Regions from separate parts of the Homo sapiens genome. Here regions 1, 3, 4, 5, 6 and 7 are each linked to region 2. Evidence: promoter capture Hi-C in 16 types of primary human blood cells and fetal thymus (Javierre and others, 2016). All regions are on one chromosome and are shown on one strand. Each heading gives the region's core, a stretch centred on a gene start or on the middle of the fragment in contact. The rest is flanking DNA. Distances are from core to core; before and after follow the strand shown.

Evidence for each region. Contacts are between HindIII fragments. The CHiCAGO score rates a contact against its expected background, and 5 or more counts as called.
Region 1: a fragment that was not itself captured here is called in contact with the fragment with the promoter of DLX6 in region 2 in 6 of 17 cell types (naive CD8 T cells, total CD4 T cells, non-activated CD4 T cells and 3 more); the score reaches 6.4 in naive CD8 T cells.
Region 3: a fragment that was not itself captured here is called in contact with the fragment with the promoter of DLX6 in region 2 in 8 of 17 cell types (naive CD8 T cells, naive CD4 T cells, total CD4 T cells and 5 more); the score reaches 9.4 in naive CD8 T cells.
Region 4: a contact is called between a fragment that was not itself captured here and the fragment with the promoter of DLX6 in region 2, in 1 of 17 cell types (monocytes). The highest score is 5.4, in monocytes.
Region 5: a fragment that was not itself captured here is called in contact with the fragment with the promoter of DLX6 in region 2 in 1 of 17 cell types (naive CD4 T cells); the score reaches 5.4 in naive CD4 T cells.
Region 6: a fragment that was not itself captured here is called in contact with the fragment with the promoter of DLX6 in region 2 in 1 of 17 cell types (naive CD4 T cells); the score reaches 6.2 in naive CD4 T cells.
Region 7: a fragment that was not itself captured here is called in contact with the fragment with the promoter of DLX6 in region 2 in 12 of 17 cell types (naive CD8 T cells, naive CD4 T cells, naive B cells and 9 more); the score reaches 10.4 in naive CD8 T cells.

What each region holds. Positions count from the first base shown.
Region 1 is chr7:96,098,290-96,101,842 of GRCh38, reverse strand. DYNC1I1 (dynein cytoplasmic 1 intermediate chain 1) reads right to left here. Exons shown (of 17, transcript NM_001135556.2): 17 at 3,419-3,553. Among named protein-coding and RNA genes, the nearest start is that of MIR591, 120 kb to the left of the region's middle. RefSeq lists an enhancer at 3,475-3,553. The HindIII fragment of the contact is 4,033 bases long and covers 1-3,380 here.
Region 2 is chr7:97,003,660-97,006,828 of GRCh38, reverse strand. It overlaps DLX6 (distal-less homeobox 6), which reads right to left and starts at 1,276. Exons shown (of 3, transcript NM_005222.4): 1 at 416-1,276. The coding sequence starts at 851. All of the region lies in intron 1 of DLX6-AS1 (DLX6 antisense RNA 1), which reads left to right. RefSeq lists a silencer at 426-525 and an enhancer at 1,838-2,559. The HindIII fragment of the contact is 12,379 bases long and covers 1-3,169 here.
Region 3 is chr7:96,046,857-96,050,271 of GRCh38, reverse strand. The region is part of intron 14 of DYNC1I1 (dynein cytoplasmic 1 intermediate chain 1); the gene reads right to left. LOC124901701 (a long non-coding RNA gene) reads right to left here and starts at 290. Exons shown (of 2, transcript XR_007060441.1): 1 at 1-290. The HindIII fragment of the contact is 7,205 bases long and covers 1-3,415 here.
Region 4 is chr7:96,011,370-96,014,855 of GRCh38, reverse strand. All of the region lies in intron 10 of DYNC1I1 (dynein cytoplasmic 1 intermediate chain 1), which reads right to left. Among named protein-coding and RNA genes, the nearest start is that of MIR591, 210 kb to the left of the region's middle. The HindIII fragment of the contact is 2,831 bases long and covers 1-2,770 here.
Region 5 is chr7:96,029,172-96,032,464 of GRCh38, reverse strand. All of the region lies in intron 11 of DYNC1I1 (dynein cytoplasmic 1 intermediate chain 1), which reads right to left. The region is part of intron 1 of LOC124901700 (a long non-coding RNA gene); the gene reads left to right. Among named protein-coding and RNA genes, the nearest start is that of MIR591, 190 kb to the left of the region's middle. The HindIII fragment of the contact is 2,962 bases long and covers 11-2,972 here.
Region 6 is chr7:96,143,011-96,146,103 of GRCh38, reverse strand. All of the region lies in intron 14 of SLC25A13 (solute carrier family 25 member 13), which reads left to right. Among named protein-coding and RNA genes, the nearest start is that of MIR591, 75 kb to the left of the region's middle. RefSeq lists enhancers at 1,379-2,213, 2,214-3,049. The HindIII fragment of the contact is 1,614 bases long and covers 445-2,058 here.
Region 7 is chr7:96,063,334-96,066,720 of GRCh38, reverse strand. All of the region lies in intron 14 of DYNC1I1 (dynein cytoplasmic 1 intermediate chain 1), which reads right to left. Among named protein-coding and RNA genes, the nearest start is that of MIR591, 150 kb to the left of the region's middle. The HindIII fragment of the contact is 9,866 bases long and covers 1-3,387 here.

The DNA.
Region 1 (3,553 bases), core at 115-2,614, 910 kb after region 2:
TGCTATCTTGGCAGGGGAAGATGAGAATGTGGCAATTTCAGAGGTCTCCATTTGGCCCTCCCTTCTGTGAGAGTTCTTATCCCAGAGGCCAGGTACCTGATGTAAGTATATCAATTCTAATTGAACACTCAAGGATTGGAGGAATGACGGAATGACCCACTGTGTGTGTACATAGACCTAATGAGCCCATTGAGACCTAGACTTTAGTAAACACTCCATTACATTACCTTGTTGCCGTAAGCCACCACTCCAATAACATTTCAGTGTGAACCCAGATAATGTACCCAATAGTCTTCAAATGTTGGTTTGTTTCTTTCTGCATTGTATATTCACCTGAATAAATGCCCATAGGTCCTTTTGGGGAAGGACTGGGGAGATCATCACAATAGATGTTTGCAGTGGTGTCCTCCCTCCTGGTGTCCTCCCTCCTAGCAACCTCCTAGCAATCTTCAGTCAATGGTTTCTGGATTGGAAAACTGGCTCAGGACTGGACAGTGAGCAGAGGTATGTGGCTTTTTATTGAGGTAACAGTCTTCAGTCTCCTGCGTCTCCATTCTTGCTCTATGTTTTTGGTCATAGAAGTTAAGCAACACCCTTTTGGCTGCCTGTCTATTTTGCCACTAGGAATGCCACGTTCTTTTAATTACTCCCACAACTTCCTATGGGTAAAGCCTTCTTGGCTGCTCTCTGATCTAGCTGGTCATTATGGCAGTTGTGGCTTCCTGACTTCTGGTGGTTAACTGCCACCACCTAGCCACTATTACTCTGGGGTCTCATCATCCCCATGGATGTGAGCAAGCCCCACTCTGTGACTGCCTCTCCTACCATCAGCCCTGACCTACAAAGGAAAGCTACTGCTAAACATTCTAGAGATGCTAATGCCTCTCTCACCAGCTCATTGCAAATGGCTTTGAAGGGTGTGTACTCTGGGTGTTCCTATGTAACATAACCCTTGAGTGTGTCTTCTGAACTTAAATAATATATCTATTCTAACATACCCATTTCCTTCAACCTCTTTATTCCTTCCTGTACTACCAGGGCAACTCAGACATTTTCACTCTAGTGAATGTAGGCTACAGCTTTTTCAGACTTCGAAGAGTGACCCTATTCTTTAGGCTCCTTGCCAGAGTATAAAGTCATATAGCTTCCCTCTTCCTTACCACACACACACACACACACACACACACACACAAAACCCTCAAAGTCAATGAATTATTCCTTATCTAATCAACATTCTGGCTCCCTTGATTAAACACCTCAAAATCTAATCCCAGTGCTACTCCCCGGGCTCCTAATGGTACATGCTAATTTTTGCAATTCTTTTGAGGTAGTTTCTTTGTTCTTTTATAAGGCCTAGGACATCCCTAGCCAGCTTAGGCAGGACAGCCATCAGACAGTGATGTTTGTCAGGCCTCAAGAAGGAGAGAGGGAAAGGGAGGAGAAGAAGGAAAGAAGGAAGGAAAGAAGGAAGGAAGGAAGGAAGGAAAGGAAGGAAGGAAGGGAGAGAGGGAGGGAGGGAGGAAGGGAGGAAGAGAAGAAAGTCAGCTAGTCTTGGACTGAAGTACAGTTCTGAGAAAGTTTTAGCAATGCTGACATAAAGTCCTGGAGCCAAAGTTACTTCAAAGAAGTCTTATGTCTCCTAGATACAGGCCAGCCTTAGGATCTTTGCCATACTTAGTCTTGGCTGGCAAGAGCATGCAGGAAGCATGACCTTGGTCAAACTTGGTAATGGGTTTCAAAGCAAGGCATCATAACTGTCATTCAACCATGTTCTCTGCAATAGGAAATCTGAAAGGCACATCTTTCTGGCTACCACATTTCATCTGGGACATCAGCTGGGGTGACTTAAATGGCTGTGGACTGGCTGTGTATTTCTCTTATGTCTACATGACCACTCCATGGTCAGCTTCTGTGTGGCCTGGAAGTCTCAGGGTAGTTGTGCTTCTTACATAGTAGCTCAGGGACCAAGATTGATTGTGCCAAGAAACCTAGGTGGAGGATATATGTCTTCTTATAACCTTGCCCTGGGCTGTGGACTGAATGTTTATGTTCATTCCCAAATTCATATGTTGAAGCCTAAATCTTCAATGTGATGATTTTTGGAGGTGGGCCTTTGGGAGATAACTGGGTCATGAGGGTGGAGCCCATATAAATGTGATTAGTGCCCTTATAAGTAATGACATGAAAGAGATCATCTCTCTCTCTCCTCACCATGTGAGGATTCAATGAGAAGATAGCCATCTGCAACCTAAGCAGATGGCCCTCACCAGATATCAGATCTGCCAGCATCTTGACCTTGGATTTCCCAGCTTTCAGAACTGTGAGAAATACAGTTCTGTTGCTTAAGCCACTCAGTCTGAATACCACAGTATTCTGTTATAGCAGTCTGAATTAACTAAGACATCCTGGAAACCACGTAGCAGTCTGAATTAACTAAGACATAATGGAAACCATGTAGCATCACTTCCCAGTATTGTGTCAGTCACATAACGTCAGCCTGGATTCAACAGGGGATGGCCTGCACAAGAATTGGGAACTGCCTTGGAGACCAGCTACCACAGTGGGATATATAAGAACACATGTTCTTGTAACATTTTATGTGCCTACTGTAAGTGACTCAGGCCTTTGTACTTTTCACATCATCACTCACCGAATCATTCAATTTGGTCTATCATAATAATGCACGCGTTTTGCATTTTTATTCTTAGGTACTTTACTGTATGTCTGTGAAACTTTTTTTCCCAGTACTTTTCATTCAAATGCTTTTAAACCTATTCCAGATACTCATTTGTTATCTATAAAATTTTTATTGTTTACAAAGGATTTCAATATCTAAATATTGTAGGCTACTTGGAGAAAAAGTATGATACTATTTTAAAAATAAAAGAAACCGTACAGTTGAAGGAATCCCTACCAACAAAGTCCCAATGGGAATTCCCTTCCTAAAAAGCCGAAAGCCTGTCTTCGAATGTTTTTCATGACTCAACCGCTATTTGTTTTCATTTTCCCTGGGCATAAAATGACCTTTTGAAAAAAAGTTTATTGAAGTTGTTTATAGACATATTTCCTAGTCCAATAGTAATAAACATCATTTCTGGTGTAAATTGTTTTTAAGAAGAAATGTGTAGGACATTTGGTATTTGTTCGTCTTAACCTACCTTTCTTACTCCAACAACTGTCTTTGGGCAAGGGTGGCTTTGGTAAAGGTGAGAAGGAGGAGCTTTCCAAAAAAACCACACACATTCCCTCATAAAAATAAAACTAGGAGTCTTGGTTTAAGTCCAGCCAGGTTGGCTGCTCAAATAAATTCATGATCAGTCTTTAACATGGCTCTAATGTATCTCTCCCATCTCTTGTCCCAGCAGAATTCCAGTCAAGCTTTCCCCAAGCAAAGGATTTACTCACACTGGTGCAGACCTGGTTTGAAACATTTTATTGGCAACACTGATGTCATATTTAGGAACCATAGACTTTTGTCAGACTGTGTTAGCTTCAGTGAGAAGTATTAGTGGTCAATGATATTTGAAATATTGTTAAAGTACCCAGAAATAAT
Region 2 (3,169 bases), core at 27-2,526:
AGCGTGGGCTGGGAAGCAAAACACGCTCCCCAGTTCCGGCCCAGAAATGTCCCCAGCCGGGTCAAACGTGGGTTACAGCCTGGAGGGAAGGAGCAAGGAAAAGGGCGCACAGACCCAGGAGGCTGGAGAGCGCAGTGTGGACTAACTCGTCGAACGAAGCCTGCGCCGGGCCCGGGACTCAGCCCGAACTGCGCGTCGGAAGCTGAGGGTCCGCGGCGGCGGGAAGGGGCCCGGCTGGGAGAGGCCGGCAGGCAGGCGCCAGGCGAGCGGGCGCGCACGGGGCCCGGCCAAGGGCGCGCGGGGCCGCCTGGGGGAGGGGGCCGGCGGAGGCCCGGGCGTCGAGGAAGTGAGCGGGCGGGCGGGGTAGGGGGCAGTCGGGAGGCGGGAGAAGCGAGCTGCCCCAGCGGCCTCTCACCTGTGTCGTCCCCTCGCGTCTGGGCGGCTGCGCTGCTGTTGTGGTAGGACTGGAGGTAAGGGCTGTGCTGCGAGTGGCTCATGTAGGGGTAGGCGGCGAGCGAGCGGTGGTTGTAGGAGTTCCCTCCGCCCGACGCGTAGGGCGAGCCGTGGTGGTGGTGCTGGTGGTGGTGGTGGTGGTGCGAGCCGGCCGCTGCCGCCGCCGCCGCCGAGTGCAGGCAGTGCAGAGGGTAGTGCGCGCCTGCCATGGCCGGGGAGCTCTGCTGCGAGTGCGGCTGCGGCGGCGGCGGCGGCGGCGGCGGCGGCTGTTGCTGTTGCTGCTGCTGCTGCTGCTGCTGTTGCTGCTGCTGCTGCTGCTGCTGCCCGAACTCCATGAAGGCGGATTTGGACGAGTCCTGGCCTTCCAAGCCGTCAGCCATCGTAGTCATGGTCATCATCAAAAACTTTGGGGGCTGGAGAAAGCCTTCTCCCGGGTTTCCTCCACCCTCCCCCACTTGGCTCGCGCCGCTCTCCCCTCTGCAGCCACCTTAGCTCTTTGGATCCTTGCAAAAAAAAAAAAAAAAAAAAAAAAGAATTTAAAGAGGGGGGTGGAGGTGGTTCTCCCTCTCCCTCGCTCTTCTCTAATATATATATATATTTAATATAAAGAGATATAGTGAGCGGGGCCTTGTTAACTCAAAGGGAGGAGGAAGGAGGAGGGATGGGAGAGGAGAGGGGGAGGGGGGAATCTGCTCTCCCCCCGCCTGCTTTCCCCCCTTGGATTTTTTGGGGGCTGGTGCAGTTTAAGGCAGAGATTTTAAGGTGGATTCTGCGAAAGTTGCGCGTCTGCTTTCAGACTTGATGCAGACGCCACGAGTCGAATGGTTTGTCTCCAAAGGGCAGTGCCTCCCCATTGGTCAGTCGCCCCCTGACGTCACAGGCGCACGGCTTCTACTGGCGTGTGCGCGACTTGCAGAGTTCTTCGCCTACCTTCCGCAGTTCCAATCCCAGCCGGAGCTGCAGCCGGGGGCCGCGCTGTGTGGCGCCCGGGGCCGTTGGGGAGGGAGGCGCCTCTGCCCGGCCGGCCGCCGATGCTTCCCGCCGCAGCTCGTGCCCCAAATCCCGGAGCCCCAGTTGCCAATATCTCAGCCTTGAAACAGCCAACTGGGGGCTGCTCTCTTTCAATCCCTTTGCACCCTTGTAGGTTGCCTGTGCTTAGAAGCAGTGACCCCACCCCCGCATTAAATCCAGGCCCCCCTTTCTTGACGTCCCTGCCACTCTGGTCCTACTACACTCTTGTGGGAGCTCCTTGTCACCGTGGATTTTTCTAGACGTATTTTATTGAAACCACAGAAGGAAGACGAACCCTCACACCTGGGCTCCACCCCACTGGGGGGTGGTACAGAAAAAGAAAAATCAGACCCTGTTCTGGCTCGGTCCCTGCCGTTTCAGGCCGTATTTCTTATATATTGTACAAAAGGTTGTGGGGGGGGGGGGCGTCTTTTTTTTCTTTTCAGAACGCAGCAGCGTGTTCTGAAAACGAATCGTTGGAGGACTGACAGTAATGCATTTTTTCCTATTGAAAACAGAAGCTACTGTAATGCTTTCAAATATATGCAAATGATACATGCGGTTAGTGGTTTGGCAAATCTTGATTACAATATAAACTACCCAAGTAAAAGTGCCTTCGTCCTAAATTTGTCTCTCGATTACAATTCCAATTGATTTTATTTTATTGTCAACATTGTTAATGATAAAAATAGAGTCGTTTTACAGTTATTTTTACTTTCTGGAAGGAGGCAATTAGAGTTCTAATCAGGAATACACAAAAATCTCCCATGATTAACTGCAGTACTTTGTTCAAATTGCTGCTATAAAATTCAGAACAATTTGCCTGTAATGATTATGGACTGGGTTTATTTTGGGAGGTGGAATAAAAGTGGATATAGCATAAATTATCCTCTAATTATACACCAGTGTCGCCTCAATTATCCTCTTATCAAAATGGTTGTCTAACTGCCGCATTTAGTTTCAATTCTCTCCTTTTTTTCTATAAAAAGAACTTCATACCTTGTTATTATTAATCCATTTATTATTTGCAAGGGGATTTATATCCGCACATCCAGGTGGTAGAACCACTTCTCTTTCAAAGATGGACTGGGGAAAGACATTAAGTTCGGAGCAGCCCAAGGCTGCGGATCTAGCCTTTCTCCCTCCGGTCTCCAGACCCACGCAGGTTAAGGCAGCCAAGCAGAGACAGCGGAGCCCCGGTGCGTGGTTCAGGCCTGGTCAACAGGTAGGAGGGCCAGACTGGGGGCCAGGCACAGAGGAGGGCAGGCCCGCCCGCACCGGCGTCCAGGGTCCCGGGTTCCGGGTCCCGGGACTGGAGGAGGTCGCCGGCAGCCCGCCCTTCCAGAGGCTTGAGATTGGGTGGACGAGACCTGAAGATCCTCTCGGTCTGGACCCCGACTTTCGATCTGCTTAGAGACCTAAGCCGCGAGCCTTTGCCCACACGGAGAAACGTACTATCTAATATCTAACAACCCTGTACTGCAGTGTCTGGAGGTTGCGGGAAGGAGACAGTGTCTCCCTTTGGGAAAACTACTGAGGACTTCTGTATATCCTACTTCTTCTGGACTCCATAAGTTACAGGACCGAAGGAAACTGAGAAATAGAGAAAAGGTGCCGCTTGCCCCTTTAACTCCAGAAAAGGGTGGCTGCAGATGGAGCAGCTTGGACTTTATTTTTTACGTTGCGCGAAGCCCGCCGGCAGCGG
Region 3 (3,415 bases), core at 358-2,857, 960 kb after region 2:
CTCTATAGGCTTCAGGGTGAGATTCATTTTGCTCACTGTGCTAATTCCAGCATGACATTCCCCCTCGAATACAGACTTCCTTTTTTAATATTTTATTATTATGTTAGACATGTGAATTCTTGGGCAGTAGAGTGTATAAAATGCATATTTCTGTTGCCAAATTTTCTTGTTGTCGAATTGTTTGCTTTTGATCTTTTCTGGTTATCTTTTTGAGCTATACTGTTTTTTTTTTTGTTTGTTTGTTTTTTTTGAGATGGAGTCTCTCTCTGTCATCCAGTCTGGAGTGCAGCGGCTCACTGCAACCTGTGCCCTCCAGGTTCAAGCAATTCTCCTGCCTCAGCCTCCTGAGTAGCTGGTACTACAGGCATGAGCCATCATGCGTGGCTAATTTTTTGTATTGTTAGTAGGGACGGGGTTTCACCATGTTGCCCAGGCTGGTCTCGGACTCCTGAGCTCAGGTGATCCGCTCACCTCGGCTTCCCAAAGTGCTGGGATTACAGGTGTGAGCCACTGTGCCCCACCACTATACTGTATTTTATCAACAAAGTATTATATTGCAGACTTTTAAAAAATTTGATTTCATTCTATTTCATAGTGTTGTCTCTTAGCACCAATTCTTTCTACGATTTGGAGGATTTTTCCTTATGTTATTTAATTTACAAGCTGAAGTGTGAGGCTATCACTAATCCTATTAAGACTCTATTATAAACTTCTTTGCCTTGTTTAAATGATAAGATGACTCCAAGTTACCCAATAAGTTTAAAGTAAAGATTATGAAGGTAATCATTATTGTCAAAAGGGACTACAATAATTACCCATCTCATATCTTTGTCTCCGCTACACTTCCATGAAAATTCTCATTGTCAGTAAGATGGAAAAAGGCCAAAAAACTCCATTTCCAATATTTTCAAGAGAGTATTTTTTTTACTTTGCCTCTTTTATTAAGATAAAGGTTATTTTCAGCCATAGTCCTGCAAAATGTGATTAGTAATTTTTTTTTTTTTTTTTTTTTTTGAGATGGAGTCTTGCTCTGTCACCCAGGCTGGAGTGCAGTGGCACACTCTTGGCTCACTGCAAGCTCTGCCTCCTGGGTTCACGCCATTCTCCTGCCTCAGCCTCCCGAGTAGCTGGGACTACAGGCACCCGCCACCATGCCCAGCTAATTTTTGTATTTTTAGTAGAGACGGGGTTTCACCGTGTTAGCCGTGATGGTCTCAATCTCCTGACCTTGTGATCTGCCTGCCTCGGCCTCTCAAAGTGCTGGGACTACAGGCGTGAGCCACTGTGCCCGGCCTGTGATTAGTAATTTTAAGAGATGTGATTGCTTCCTTTAAATTTTACGCTCATAGAGATTAAGAAGAGGAGAAAGCCATTAGCCCATATTGTCAAGTTTCAAGCGTAACTGTTTAGGACAACATAAAGGGTTAGAATTAATTTGGGGTTTCAAATACATTCACCGTACAAACCTCTGGCCAGAACATGTAGCATATTCATTATATGAGGAAACCTTGTTGCAGGTGGGACAATAGTTTTCATTCTCCTGTCTGAACCCTAAACTAGATCCCCAGTTCTCTAACACAACCCTGGGAGAAAGGAAGGGTCCCTCAATGTAACTGAACTGCCCCACCAGCTCTGTAGGATGGGATGTTTGAAATAGAACTTTACGGTGGTTTAGGGCATGGCTCTTTATATTTTAGCAACATCTGGATTACTTGGAAGGCTTCTAAAACACAGATTGTTGGCTCCCATCCCCAGAGTTTTTGACACAGAAGGTCTGGGGTGGGGCCCAGACGGTTTGCATCTCTAATAAGCCCCAGGTAATGCTGTTGCTTCTGATCTGGGGCCACATTTTGAGAACACTGGCTTGGAAGAATTGTAAAGAAGTGGTGCATCTCCCAAACCTGGATCTGTTCACCTGCTCTAGTAATGGTGGGGACAGACTGTGGACAGCTTTGAATGTCAGATTCAGGAGATTCCTGTAAGAGATTCCACAATGGCAATTTTACACAATTCTTGGCACTCTTCTTATCACCTCATAAAATTTAAATTAGATATCACCTATGAAATACATCTGTGATATTTAGCCCCAGCTGGTCCTCAAATCTATGCAGTTCAGGGCCCTGTCCCATCTCTTACAGGACCTGGTCTAATCCTCCTTCCTCTCCCTACCACATCCCAGTTCCCATCATCGTTAACAGATAACTGCCTCTGACTCCACCGAAGAAATGGGGGACCTTCTCTTCTTTCCTCCTTCTCCCTCCACTTCCATGTAGCTAAACTTACTTGTAAGCCTTTTTTTAGTCTTGCCAATATCCTGCCTCTTCTCCCTATCCTAAACCTGACATGGTCACTTGAAATAATCTTCCTCTGGTTTTTTCTTTTAATTTAATTTTTATTCCAATAGCTTTTGGAGTTCAAGTCGCTTTTTGTTACATGGATGAGTTATATAGCGGTGAATTCTGTTCCTCCATTTTTTAAACCATACACCTTTCACTGGCTCCTCTTCAGGCCGCAAATATACTCAGGTCTCTCAGAGAGTATAATAATAAAATCCTTCCTTGGCCTGGCTTTCCCTGCTAGTCGCCTCTCTATCTCCTTATGTTCACTGCCTCATGTCTGAAAGACTAGTCTATATTTTCTGTGTCTACTGTCTTCCCTTTTCACTCTGCAACCACTCACAATCTGTCTCCAGTGCTCCACTAAAAGTGTTCTCACTGAGGTCCACGTGACCCTCTTCTTGCCTTGCCATCTGTGTATTTCTTGATATCTCTGGTGTTTAACAGTCTTTATCACATTCTTTATTGAGCATCCTGTTCTCACGCCTCAGCACCTGCAGCATCAGCAGGTCCAAGATTGCATTCATAGCCTCTTCAATTCATGTTCTATTATAATGTTCACCTTTGGAATAAATGATGGATCACTGTCATATCTATATTTCTAACTCATCCTTTGCCCCTGAGCTTCAGTATTACGCTGTCAATTGAATATTTGTGTCCCTCCAAAATTCATATGTTGAAACTTGATCCCTACTGTGATAGTATTAAAAGGTGGGAACTTTAGGAGATGATTAGGTCATGAGGGCTCCACCCTCATGAATGGGATTAGTATCCTTATAAAAGAGGCTTCAAGGAGCCTGTTAGCCCCTTCTTCCATGTGAGGATGCAAGAAGAAAGCACCATCTATGAGGCAGTGAGCACTCACCAGACACCAAATCTACTGGCACCTTGATCTTGGACATATCAGCCTCCAGAACTGTGAGCAATAAAGACTATTGTTTATAAGTTACCCACTCTAAGTTGTTTTGTTATAGAACCCTGAATGGACTAAGACAAATATCTTCAATTACATTGTGGGAATTTCCAGACACCTCAGTCTAAGCATGCCCAGACCACTGATTTCCTACCTCTAACCCAAG
Region 4 (3,486 bases), core at 106-2,605, 990 kb after region 2:
GTAATTTAATATGCATCTAACTCAGTTGTGTTTGGGCTTCATCCAATCTATGAATATCAGTGTGATAAATTATAATGAATTGTCTGCAGTACTTCACAAAGTGACTATAACAGACCTGAAAAACAAGATCCGTAGCTTGATTTTCCAGCTTCCTTTGAATATTTTCTGCCCTATTCCTGTCAGAACATTCCAAAACTTGAAAATATTTCTTATAGTTCCCCACACAGAAAGTTATGTGCTTTGAGCCCCATTTGATTAGATCCACAGTTGTTGGCTGTCTCTATTAAATCAAGCCCCACACTTGAAAATGACACCAACAGTGAGACCAGCCAAATAATATAGCAAGAGAACTAACATGGCTCCTTTAGTTTCCAAAGGGTTTCTTTACATGTTAATTTCCCTTTGTAATCCACACGGTGTGCTGGGAAGTAGGTTAGTGAAAGGCACTGGGTTCCTATTTCAGATTCCGAAAAAGCAGCTGGAACCTTACATGTCTGCTGGGAGAAGGGGCAAAAACCGAAAAGGGAGTCAGGAGACTCACGTTCTGGAAAGACTCTCTTTCTATAGCTGTGTCACTTTGTTCATGGGACTTAACTCCTTTAGGACGTAGTTTCTTCAATTAAGTTAAGGGCCACTGCCTGAGAGAACAGGCCATCTTCCCTTTCTTTAATGGCTGTAGGGAGTTCCAGCTCTTCAGAATGCAAAAGCATGACTCTGTTCTATAGATGAGTCCTCCTAAGTAAAAAATGATTTGAATGTCATTAAGCTGTTTGTTTCCTGCTCTGGTCAGAGGACAGCAGCCCTTACGGTAACACACAAAGGTTGTGGGGAAGGGACAGGATGTGATTTTTTCCCCTTCATCCTAATCATAGGATACAGACGTAGTGGAAAGATCCATGAACTGGTACTCAAGACTGATTTTCTATGTGAAAATCATGTTAATTCTGTTGGGCTTAATTTCTTCATGGGTACAATAAAATGGATCCTTTGGAGTTGGAAGCCTCAGAAGGGCAGGAGATGGGCTTCTCTTCTCTCTGTGTTGTTCTTTGTGCCTCAGCCAGTTCCTAAGATTTGGTAGGCATTAGCATTAATTTGCTCTTGCTGCAGTAACAAATTACCTGCTAATCCCAGCACTTTGGGAGGCCAAGGCCAGAGGATCACTTGAGCCCAGGAGTTCAAGACCAGCCTGGGCAACATGGCAAAAACCTGTCCCTACAAAAAATACAAAAATTAGCCAGGCGTGGTGGTACATGCCTGTAGTCCCAGCTACCTGGGAGACGGAGGCAAGAGGATCACTAGAGCCCAGAAGGTTGAGGCTTCAGTGAGCTGAGATCATGCCACTGCACTCCAGCCTGGGTGACAGAGTAAGACCCTGTCTCAAACAAAACAAAACAAAACAAAACAAAAACAAATTATGACACACTTAGTGGCTTAAAACAACATAAATTTATTATCTTACAGCTCTGGAGGTTGGAAGGACTAAAATCGAGGGGTAGACAGTGCTACGTTTCTTTTTGGAGGGTAAAGGGGAGAATCAATTTCTTGGCCTTCTTTCCAACTTCTAGAGGCCACCCTCATTTCTTGCATCATGCCACCTTTCACCCTCAAAGCCAGCAAGGGTTGGTCAAGTCTCTCTCTCACATCACACCTTCTGATTCTGCTTCCATCATCCCATCTCCTTCTCTGAGTCTGACCCTCTTTGCCTCTCTCTCTCTCTTTCACTTATGAGATCCCTTGTGATTACACTGGGCCGACCCACATAATCCAGGATAACCTCCCCATTTCAAGATCCTCAATTTGTGAGATTTTAGGGTACCCATCACCTGAGCAGTGTACACTATACCCTATTTGTAGTCTTTTATCCCTCACCCCCATCCACCCTTCCCCAAGTCACCACTAAGGAACTTACTCATGTAAGCAAACACCACCTGTACCCTAATAACCTATGGAAAAAATTTAAAAAAATAATAAAAAAAGATCCTTAATTTAATCCTATTTGCAAAGTCCCTTTTGCCACTTGAGGTAACATTCACAGGTTCCTGGTATAAGAATAGAGATGTCTTTGGGTGGCCATTATTCTATCAGCGTGGTCAACAAATACTTGATAAACTTGTAAATATTTTGAGAAAATGATAAATTAAGCACTTCAAAGTATATGTAAATTCAGCTGATTCCCACAGCCCATCACTAGCTAAAGTCATGGTCACATATATATTGTACACTCCCAGACAAACAACCTTCATACTCACTCGAGCTCATGTTCACCTGAGTTTATGTTTTGGCTTTAAAAATGTACCCTAGTTCTATTTCACTTTCTTTCACCTGATAGAATATAATCTGTTGTGAGATTTTCCTAAAAAGGTTAATTTGAATTGTTTACTCCCATATTGAGACAGCTAAAGTTCCAGGCAGAATAGAGATTTAAAACTCCTTTCTACTTCCTATCTCTTACTAAACTCCTTTCCCAATTGCCATTTCAAACAGAACAACCAACAAAAAAGAAAGGATGGTAATCTTCAGACAGAAGCAGAGACGCACAGAGCATACTGTAGACCTACTAGCAAAAACCCAAACTCTGCTGTTATTTGCAACCCATGAGTGCATATACCCTCTTCCTTCAAAATAAATCTTTCAAGCCTAAGTTACATTAGTGGAACTACTCTCTCAGTAGAGGTGCTATCAACCATCACATCAATCACAATCCATATACCTTCTGTCAAAACTTTTTCAAATTTGTTCTCATGGCATGAAAAAAATGTAACAATAAGCTTCCTGCCACTGTCCCCAACCCTCCTCCCACCAACGCAGATAAAATTTCAGGATAGTTTTGGCAGACCATAGGAACATATTTTCATTTTTTAAGTTTTTCAATTGTTTTGAAGCAGTTAACATTTTATGCTGATCGGTATGTGTCACTTGGGAAAACTTCTACCAGTTTTCTACCAGTACAATTACAGGGATCCCGTCTTATCTTTAAATTAACCGTAGCTTCAGAAAGACACGCCAATCTATTATATTTGCCAAATGCCAGTTATACCAATGTATCATATATATAACTGGTGTCAAAGACTAATTAGGAATAATTGAAAGTTAATTGAACAGTACACTCAAGTATGTTGACAGAAAGATATGTCTTGAGAACTAGATTGACACACACCACCACTTCGAAATTTTCTATGTGAGTTGTTCTCTTCTTTTAAAATTGGCAGTGATACCATATCAATGACAAAATTCACAGATTTACTTATTGATGGACTTAAGTACAAATAGAATATTTCTGTGTGGGCTTGGAGGAAATAACTGCAAATTTCACAAGGTGAAAATTCTCCTGAGCAATTTTTCCTATAGTTCTAGTAGGTTATTTAATATTTGGCACCTACTTTGAGCACAGATAAATATCCTACAGTGGGTTTAACATAGCACATAACTCTCACTGAAGAACGTGAATTTCTATGGGAAAATCTAGTCCAAAGGCAAAAAACCCCT
Region 5 (3,293 bases), core at 242-2,741, 970 kb after region 2:
TTATAAAGCTTCACCTTGCTCAGTCAGAATGCAATGCAGTGGAACAGAAGGACGCTAGAACAAATGAGGTTTGATGGGGCAGAGGCAATGCAGGGAGGTGAATTTGAACTACTTGAATAAGTCTCCACCGCATAGTTTGGCTTCTAAGCTCAACAAGAGTGATGGAAAAAGACAGTCTTCAAAAGGGTAGAACTACTGACTTTTGGAAGGAATACATGTTACTAAATCTGGAGTTTAATGCATTATAGTCACAATGCCAAACATTTGTTAACATTCTTTATAAAAAGTGGTTAATATTCATAACCATTTTAATCTGGGGGAGAGATACTAGTGGTGAGATTATTGGCACAATGTACCTGGTGAGATAAAATTAGGTTCTTCTATGTTACTGCAAAATCTAGGATAATAATATATTTATTTTTCAAAATACCGTTTGCAGTAGTATAGAGGCTTAGATTTGGCCAGGGCATTGAGAAAGGTCATTTATACATCCCAGGAACCATACACAAGATGTTGTAACCCTCTGTCATACTCTAGTGGGTTATCCCACTCTGCAGAATTCTAAACGGTAGGCTAAAATCATTTGCAGCTGTGTATTAAACACAAAATGGAAGGTTACTATGAGCAGAACCTACAGCAATTTGGGTTAGATTTCAGGCAGTTCAGCCACCAGTGGCCAAACCACACTTACTTGGTGCTTCTTTGTGCAAATAGCTGACAGTATCAGTCTTACCCTTGGTGAGTTACTGTCCATAATACCTAGCCACAACTACAATGAAACAATATTTAATATTGGAAAGTTGCTATTGTATAAAGGATGGTTCCCAAACTATTATTATCATATAAACTGCTGGTCAGAAGGAGTGGTAATAATCATCTAATGTAGCTACTCATCTGCCTCAACCAAGAGGTGGTCCAAACTCTGCTTAAACACCTTCCTTAAAGGGCAGCCAGTTTTCGTAGTATCCTGGGGGAGTTTTTTCTTCCACTAATGGGGATAAAGAAAGTTCAAGGAGATACTTCCAGTGCAGTGCCCTGTGGGACCAAACCAAACTAATCAAGTCAAAACAGTACAGCTTTTTGAATATTTATAGATAGTTGTTCCCTGTTACTCCTCTCCCTGCCAAATCTTTTCTTACCCAGACTGTCACTAATTCCTTCATCTGTTCCTTGGGTACCTGGTTTTCAAAACCTTTCCTATCCTGGTGAATCTCTTTTGAAAATGCTGTATTTTGTCTGATTCCTCTTCCAGTGAGGTTCTGAGAATAAAACAGAACTGTCTACCTATATTCTGACCAGCAGAATATAGAAACCTGGGTAGCATTGAATTATCACTTCTCATGTGATAAAAAATATGCCTGCATTTAATGCATGCTAAGATTACATCTGCTTTTTTGACAATTATATCACCTCTTTCCCCCGTGCTGATGGACAGTCAGCTAAGTCCCTATGTCTTTCACACCATGTCCCTACTGAAACTTCCAAATGAGTCAGCCTTAGTGGATCTGCACATAGTAAGTACAGCAGAGATCTGAAGCTAAATGTTATCCCAATCAGTTCTCTAAGTATCAGGAAGGCTGACTGGTTGTGGGATTGTAGGCAATGCTCTTTCCCAAGTCTCTGGTGTATGTAGAGCCCCAGGCAGTGTATTATCAAGCCCGGAGCCACACAGCATGCTAACCTCTGTGTGGAAATCAAATGGAAGATTGGATGTAACAAATTTTCACCTGAAAATGGTATAGACTTAGTAAAACTGAAGAATGGGAAGGCAGGGTCCAAATACTGTTATGAACCTGAAATCCATCTTGTTTTTCAACAAGAGTCCAGTGGGGCTTCTTTGATAACCACTGAGCATCAACACAAATCATTAAACACTAATGGATTAAGACTCAGAAAGGTCCAGCAGAGAAAGAAAGCAAGTCTAGAAGAATGTGTAGAGCCATGTGCCCGGAGAAAGTGTGTGTGGCAGCCCCTCCCAGGCTTTAATCAGCACTACTGGCCTGTGCTTCCATGAGTAATAAAACTCAGTTTAAGAGAAAAAAGAGGTGTAATGAAACCAAAACAGAAGCAGACACTGGAGCATGCCTACACACACACACACACACACACACACACACACACACACACACACACAACTCTACCATTAAGGAAGAAGAAAGCTACAGTATACCCATTTTTCCAGTATAGATGCCAGATTGTTTTTATTTATCTTGGAAATAAACTTACTGTGTGCCTGAGGGATTTTGTTTTACTTATGATTTCCTGTTGTCTCAAATGCATATGTGTGGTGGGTGTGAAAGGAAATTAGTGAGTAATCTGTGGTGGGCCTCTTTTTCCTTTTTGATCCTGGTACCAATCAGTCAGCCAATAGTGAAAGTTGAAAGACAGTCACAAAATTAACTGTTCACTTTTAGCTATAGATTAGAGAAAACAAACAAACAAAATCCCCCTGAAAAAAACCAAAACAACAACAACAACAACAACAAAACAGCAAAAGCGAAAAGTGGACAAGTTTTGTTTCTTTTTCCTTTCTTTTTCTTTCTTTTTTTTTTTTTAGAGGAAGTCTCCCTCTGTTGCCCAGGCTGCAGTGCAGTGGTAAAATCTTGGCACACTCCTACCTCTGCCTCCTGGTTTCAAGCGATTCTTATGCCTTAGCCTCCCAAGAAGCTAGGATTACAGGCGTGCACCACCACACCCAGCTACTTTTTGTATTTTTAGTAGAGACAGCGTTTCTCCATGTTGGCCAGCCTGGTCTCGAACCCCTCAAGTGATCCACCTGTCTTGGCCTCCCAAAATGCTGGCATTAGAGGTGTGAGCCACCATGCCTGGCCTATTTTATTTTCTAACAGAAATAACATCAGTAAGTTTGATAATAATAGTATTTTAGTTGTGATGATCACACTCTAAGTTACTCACAAAAGAAATGTTAATTTTTTGGAAGAGCTCCTGGTTTTGAATTTTCCCCAAAAGCTTACTGCTAAATGTTCTAACATTTGGATTTACAATTTTGGAAATTTCAGAAGGTATGTTCAGAAATACACCAGCCATCCAAACAGGGCCAAGGCATGGTTTCACACTACTTCACCAAACACCTGCATCAAGCCCACCTTCTCCTGGGCCACAATTTTCTGTTATTAGTTTGGGGAAATGGGGCAGGCAAGAGCAATTTCCCAAGATTCCCAAGAACTAGTTTCACCTGCAAGTGTCTTTGGCCCCAGTCAATCAGAATTGGGGCTGACTTGGTATTTGTCATTTCCCATTGATAATCTTACAAGAGTAGGAGATTTTTCCTC
Region 6 (3,093 bases), core at 2-2,501, 860 kb after region 2:
TCAGAATGATTACAAAACCAAACTTCTAGATGATTCTTGAAATTTTTTATTCATACTGCTCTACCAAAAAGTTATAATGGAATTTACTAGAACTGTCTGCCTATATGCCAACCTATAAGGCTTTATCAAACATAATGTATACACAAGTTTTCAATGAAGAATTTTTTAAAAAAACATTTTACGCTAGCTTGACTAAGTAAACCTTTAGGGATATGGGAGAAAAATAAAATGTCTACTTAAGATAGTTTCATTTATTTACACAGAAATGTATACAGTCACATTATATAAAATTAATACTGCTTTGTTTCTATAAACACATATCAAGAAATATTAAAATTATTCATGAATTTTGAATCAGCATCTTGAGCTCCATTTAACCCACTTTTTAGGTCATCTGTTAGCATGGTTTTGCAGAATACATTGTCTTCATTTTTATCCCAAGCTTTGTAATTTGAAGCATTTTTGACTTTTATGTATGATATTGTTCCTGCAAATTTTATCCCATAGACACATAATATTAAGACAGTCAATTGCTTTTTTCCTATTCCCAGTTAATCCTGAATGGATATAACTGGTCCCCATAATGTAACAACTTACCATATTGCTAGAGTAAACTTGAAATGACTTGTTTTGACATTTGACACAGTATTTGTGAGATCCTCCTCCCAGAAATACTTTTTTACTCTTTTTCTTTCTAACCTGAGTTTTGCAAGTGACCTCAGTAAACATCCAGAATTAGTAATAATTGTGGCTGTCTCAGGAGAATCTCCCTTCCCCGAATGGTACTCTGCTTCTCCAGGTCAAGTGATTGGAAAGAGTACTCCATGATCTGAGACTTTGTGAAGATTGAATATAAAGTGATGCCCTCTTTTCTGGGATTAATTTTAGCAGGGGAAAATTTTGCCTTATATTTAGGCATATGTGGTACTTAGGAATAAACCTGCTGTTTTTTTAAGTAGAACTTAAAATGCTCAATCTGTGATTCTACAATATAACACAATGTTCTATAGCTATTTTGCTTACCAATTTATTACCCAGCTGTAAAAAATAAACACTGTTGTCATGAGGCATAGCATTGATCAATTTGAAGAAAAATCATCTTTTCTAAATTTTTAGGCTCTTGCAGTCTGTAATATGATGTAGCAGCATGTCATTTTGACAAGATGCCAGGAGTCTTTCAATGGGTTGTCTGGTAAAAAGCACTTAGGTACTGTGGCAGTGACTGTTATTGAAATGTCTAGATGAGTAAAATGGTAGGAACTTGTTTGCTGATACAGAAACAGAGACTGTTAAACTACCTGCAAATGATACAATACTGGGACTTAGTGCTTTTCATCTTCACATTATTTAATAATCTTAATCCCCTTTAACACTTCTTGGAAGTAGTTGGTATCCTGGTTTTGTAGTTCAGGTGAATAGAGGCTGCCAACCATGGTATCTGAGCTGAAATTGAGGCTCAGAAGTTTCTTGTTTCCACTTTTGTGCTAAAATTGCTTTCCTGAAATGAGCAGGATTGCTCAAGTTTGAGCAAGAGAACTCTCCCATATGAAGTTAGTTTAATTACTAGTCTAGTAGTTTAATCTAGTTCAGAAGCATTCCACAGGGCTTGGTGCTCCCTTCTAAAATGCTGTTTTTGGTGTACTGGTAATTACCAAGAAAATCAGTAATGCTTTGAGCTTCTGGAACCTTGATTTTGTTGCAAGAAAGTGACCTAGTAATCTCTATCTTCCTGTTGGTCATCAGTATCAGCTACATTCAGAGACCCGGGAGTCAGGATTTCATTCAGCAGATGTTGACCTCTGTGGTTTGGTCTCCTTTCAGTCTGATTAGCTCTTGTATTACAAGTCTGGTTGGTCCTCATTTATATATTCCCAGCATTCTGTCTTGGGCTTTGTTTCATGTGAACCTCTCTTCTCCAGCCCCACCCCACTTCACCTTTACGTGGTCAGACATCACAGCAGGTTAAGATCCATCTTTCTAGGGAGCATCACAGCATTAGCATTGCTTTGTAGTTTAATGTGTTTTTGTTTCAGGATAGCACTTTTTAGTAATAAAGCTTTTCTGTTTCTAGTCCTGGTTGGCTAGAAAAATGCAAATGACTAGGGGTGACCTCACACAGTACTTTTAAACCTGGTATGTGTCCCTCCAGGTGGGTCTTTAAAAAGAAGAACCACTGTCCTAGATTTAGTTGAGACAGGTAATCTTTCTCCTTCCCTCTGTTCTTTTGTTTCTGTTGTTAACATTACAATGCCAGACCCAAGAAGGGTGAGTGGTTGGCTCTGTCTGTGTGTTTAGGCCTGCTGAGCTTTAACCTTACCTAAATTGGAAAATCAGGCTTTCTGTTTTTCTTCTGTATTGACTTGCAAAATAAGCAAACTATTCTGACTTCCCAGTAAGTGGCAATTAGAATACTTGTTTTAGAAATACATTTGCAACTGAAAAAAAGTGGAAAATGGTAAACATTTTGCATTCCTAAAGTAAGAAATAGTTTAGCACAAATATAGTAAACAATGTAAATAAAGCCCCCCTCTAAAATGCTAACATTTAGAGAGATTTAGTTATAGCACAGAGGATGTAGGTGACTGAAGTGAAGGCAGCATAATTAATTGCCTTTGAAAGAGCTATTTGAATGTAATGTAGCTAAGAAAACAAATCTGCAATGTCTACTTCTTTTTAAAAAGAATTATGAGAATGTATTTCCCTTTCCCTGCATAACTTCTGTTTTATTGCATAAACCCCTGGAGCATAAAAATAAAAGTCAAATAAACTTAACATAGCAAAAAAAGTTGTATCCATCTACTTTTGAACATTACCTTTTCCGTAGGAGCTGTCAGAGCGTTAATGAGGGGACAAATTATACTTTAGGAATGGAATGAAACTTATCATTTAACAGTAAATGGCAGCACAGCTAATTAGGCCAAAAAGACGCTTCGTTAGGAAGCAGTGGAACTGTCCATGTCTCTTTTTGAGTACAAAACATGGTCAGTGAAGCAATGACAGCTGGGATCCATCAAGCACTGTTGAAAAGTTTTCAAATTCTATAATCACAAATTAAACCTTGATTCTACCTTGGAGGGTCACTTAGGAATATGG
Region 7 (3,387 bases), core at 749-3,248, 940 kb after region 2:
ACACACAACAGAGTTCTAAAGAAGGGAGGTAGAATACATAGCTATTACCAGGATCCTGAGATAAGCTGATTATTACAATATGGTTCTGCAACAGCTCTAAATTTCCTGATAACTAAGACAAAAGGGAAAACACATCATATCACAAGGAGGTACCCAGGTTTTTACCATCTGAAGAAAGGAAGAATATAAATTCCCCCTCAAAGACACAATTCTGGGAAAAACTCTGGGAGGAATTTACCATGTCTGCAAATCACTGGAAAACAGACTGGCTCTCTGCCTTGTTTATACCAAAGAAAGAGAACAAGTATGTAGCCAGGTGCTAAATTCTGTGGTACAGATGTTAGGTGCCAGAGGAATTTGAAGATTGGGGGTGGTAGTGGTGTGTTGGTGTTACCAGAGTCTGATGTGGTCAAGGATGGTATTATCTAGGACAGGTGAGGGAACCTGCCTTGAAAGATACATAGACTTTGACAGATGGTAAGGAAAACAGTCAAGAAGAGGAGAGCAAAACATGCAAAAACCTGGTTAAGTCAGTATGGTATTCCCAGACGGATATAAAGATGAGAGGTGGGGACAGCCTGAGTGAACTCTGAGGATTTGTCCTAAGAAATAATGAAAACAAAATAATTTTGGTTTGGGTAGGGGAAAAGTGGGGTATGTTATGAAAAGTCTTGGGTATGTAGTTAAAACTTTTTGCTGCAATTAGCTATTAATGTATTAAATGTGCATTGATAAATGTGCTATGTGCTAAACAGATTCAGAGATGTTTAACATTCACAAGAGTGTTTTCAGCTTTTCTAGTGCAGTCAACTGAATGACGAATACCATTAAATGAGTAGAAAATAGAAAAAATAGAGAAATAGAGGAAGGTCTGATCTGTATTTTAAACACAGTGCATTTGAGTCTCTGGTAGAGACACTCAGGTTAGGCTGACAGTGGAAGTGCAGGTCTGAAGTTGAAAGAGAGAGTGGGCCTGAAGTCCACACTAAAGAATCAGTCACACGAGGTGCTGTGGGAGAGGAAAGAGCCGGGATGCTCGGCGCGGTGGCTCACGCCTGTAATCTCAGCGCTTTGGGAGACCAAGGCGGGCAAATTGCTTGAGCCAAGGAGTTTGAGACCAGCCTGGGCAACATGGCGAAACCCTGTCTGTACAAAACAAACAAACAAACCAAAAATTTAGCCAGGCATGGTGATGAATGCCTGTAGTCCCAGCTATTTGGAAGGCTGAGGTGGGAGGATCAATTGAATCCTGGAGATAGAGTCTGCAGTAAGCCATGATTATGCCACTGAACTCCAGCCTAAGCCACGGAGAGAGACCCTGTCTCAAAAAAAAAAAAAAAAAGAAAGAAAGAAAAAAAGAAAAGAGTGGGGAGGATGGAGAAGAAGGAGGACTATGGAGGAAATTTTGAGCATTTGGGCTGAGAGAGTAGAAGAGAGAGAACCAGTGGAGAGGACCTAGACAAAGCAGGAGAACATAACTGGGCTAGAGAGAGCTGCAGGAATGAGGGGTGGATAATACCAAGAAACCATTGAATGTAGCAATTAGGAATTCGTTGATGGTCTTAAACTGAGAAGTGTTGGAAGATTAATATGGTTGGTTGAGGGTGGTTGGCAAATGTGGCAATGGTCCATGTGGGTGCACGCTGATTCTTCAAGTGGTTTGCAAGCTAACCCAAATTTTAGGCCATGTTTGAGATATTTTAATCGAACCCATCTAATCATCAACCACTAATATCTAAGCAAATCATAACACTACTACATGAGTGTGTGTCTAGGGCTGCCTTTTTTTTTTTGCCTTAAGACCACCCACTGTCCATTTAGATACACCATCCTTGATTTTTTGGACCATTTCTTACTTTGCTTTCTGTCTCAAGCACTTGGCATACAATCTGGCAAATGGAAGGCAGATAAGATGGACTGTAATTAGGTGATGAACGCAGCCTTGAGTTCAGTCCTATTTTGTCTGACACCTGTGAACAGAGCCTTCAGCCTTCCTCTGATGCTCTGGGCTTGGGCTTTCCTAGACTCCCCAGGACCAAACCTCTACTCTCTCAAATGGATTTTTGATTTGGCATCCTCCTTGGGATAACTATTGTGCTTCTAGCATGTTACCTTGGTTCAGAACCTTTCCCCTCACTTTGGTACCTTGAGATGTAACCTCTGATGAAGGTCACATTTGCTGCCCAGTCATGGCAAAGATTTCAGCATGTTTGAACACCACGGGAAAAGATCAGGAAACTGCTACTGAGCAAGAAAGCTATATGAAAAATCGTAATGAAAGGTAGGCCACTAGTGAGTTGGATAGTAGGAAATCTAGCCACAAATTTCCTGTGGATCACAGGGACAAAGCAATGGAAATTAAATGTCTGATTAATTGTATCTCATTAAAAACAAATAAACTTATCCTTTGACTTAAAGCATCAGTATGTCCCTGAAACACACAAATTTCAATTGGAGAGACACTGAGAGAGGGAGAGAGAGAGAGAGAGAGAGAGAGAGAGAGAGAGAGATATGAATATTTCTTTCCATGAAATATTCTGATATGTTTGGTCTGGAGAAGAACAATGATGCTTAGAAACAAGCACTGACTCTAAAGAAGCCTGAATCCAAACCAGCACCACAGGGCAACTAAATACCCTGCACCAGTCAGTAAATGTATTCTGAAGATGGTGATCAACGGTCTCTGCATTCAGCATCAGCCAAGCCACCTCTCCCGCTAACCACATTGCATCAACTGTTCCCGCTGCTTTCCCTCGACATCCATGGGTCCTTCAAGGTTCTGTTGCCTCTGGGATTCAGCCTTGGAGAGACTGGAGCCCTTCAATATAAGGATTAGGAGGTGGCGGTAGTGAAAGGCCTTATGGTTAACTCTTTATTTGTCCATAACCAAGGATCAATTGTGATAATGAAATATCTTTAGCTCTTATGGGTGGAATTATCACCCTCTCTCTCCATCATCAAATTCATATGGTGATGTCCTAATTCCAGTACCTTGGAATATGAGACTGTTGTTTGTGGAGGTAAGGTCTTTAAAGAAATAATTAAGATTAAATGAGGTTGTATGGGCGGGCTGTAATCCAGTATGACTGGTGTTCTTATAAAAAGAGGAGATTAGGACACAAACGTGTACAAAGGGAAGCCCATGTGAAGACACAGGGAGAAGGCAGCCACCTACAAGTCAAAGCGAGAGGCTTCAGAGGAAACCAACCCTGATGACACCTTGATCTTGAACTTCTAGCCTCCAGAACTATGAGAGGATGCATTTCTGTTGTTTAAACCAGGTTGTGGTAGTTTGTTATGGCAGCCCTAACAAACTAACATAATTCTCAAATGAGAAGAGAAGGCAGACTTTTTTTTTCCTCTTGGCCTCTAATGCACAGACACATG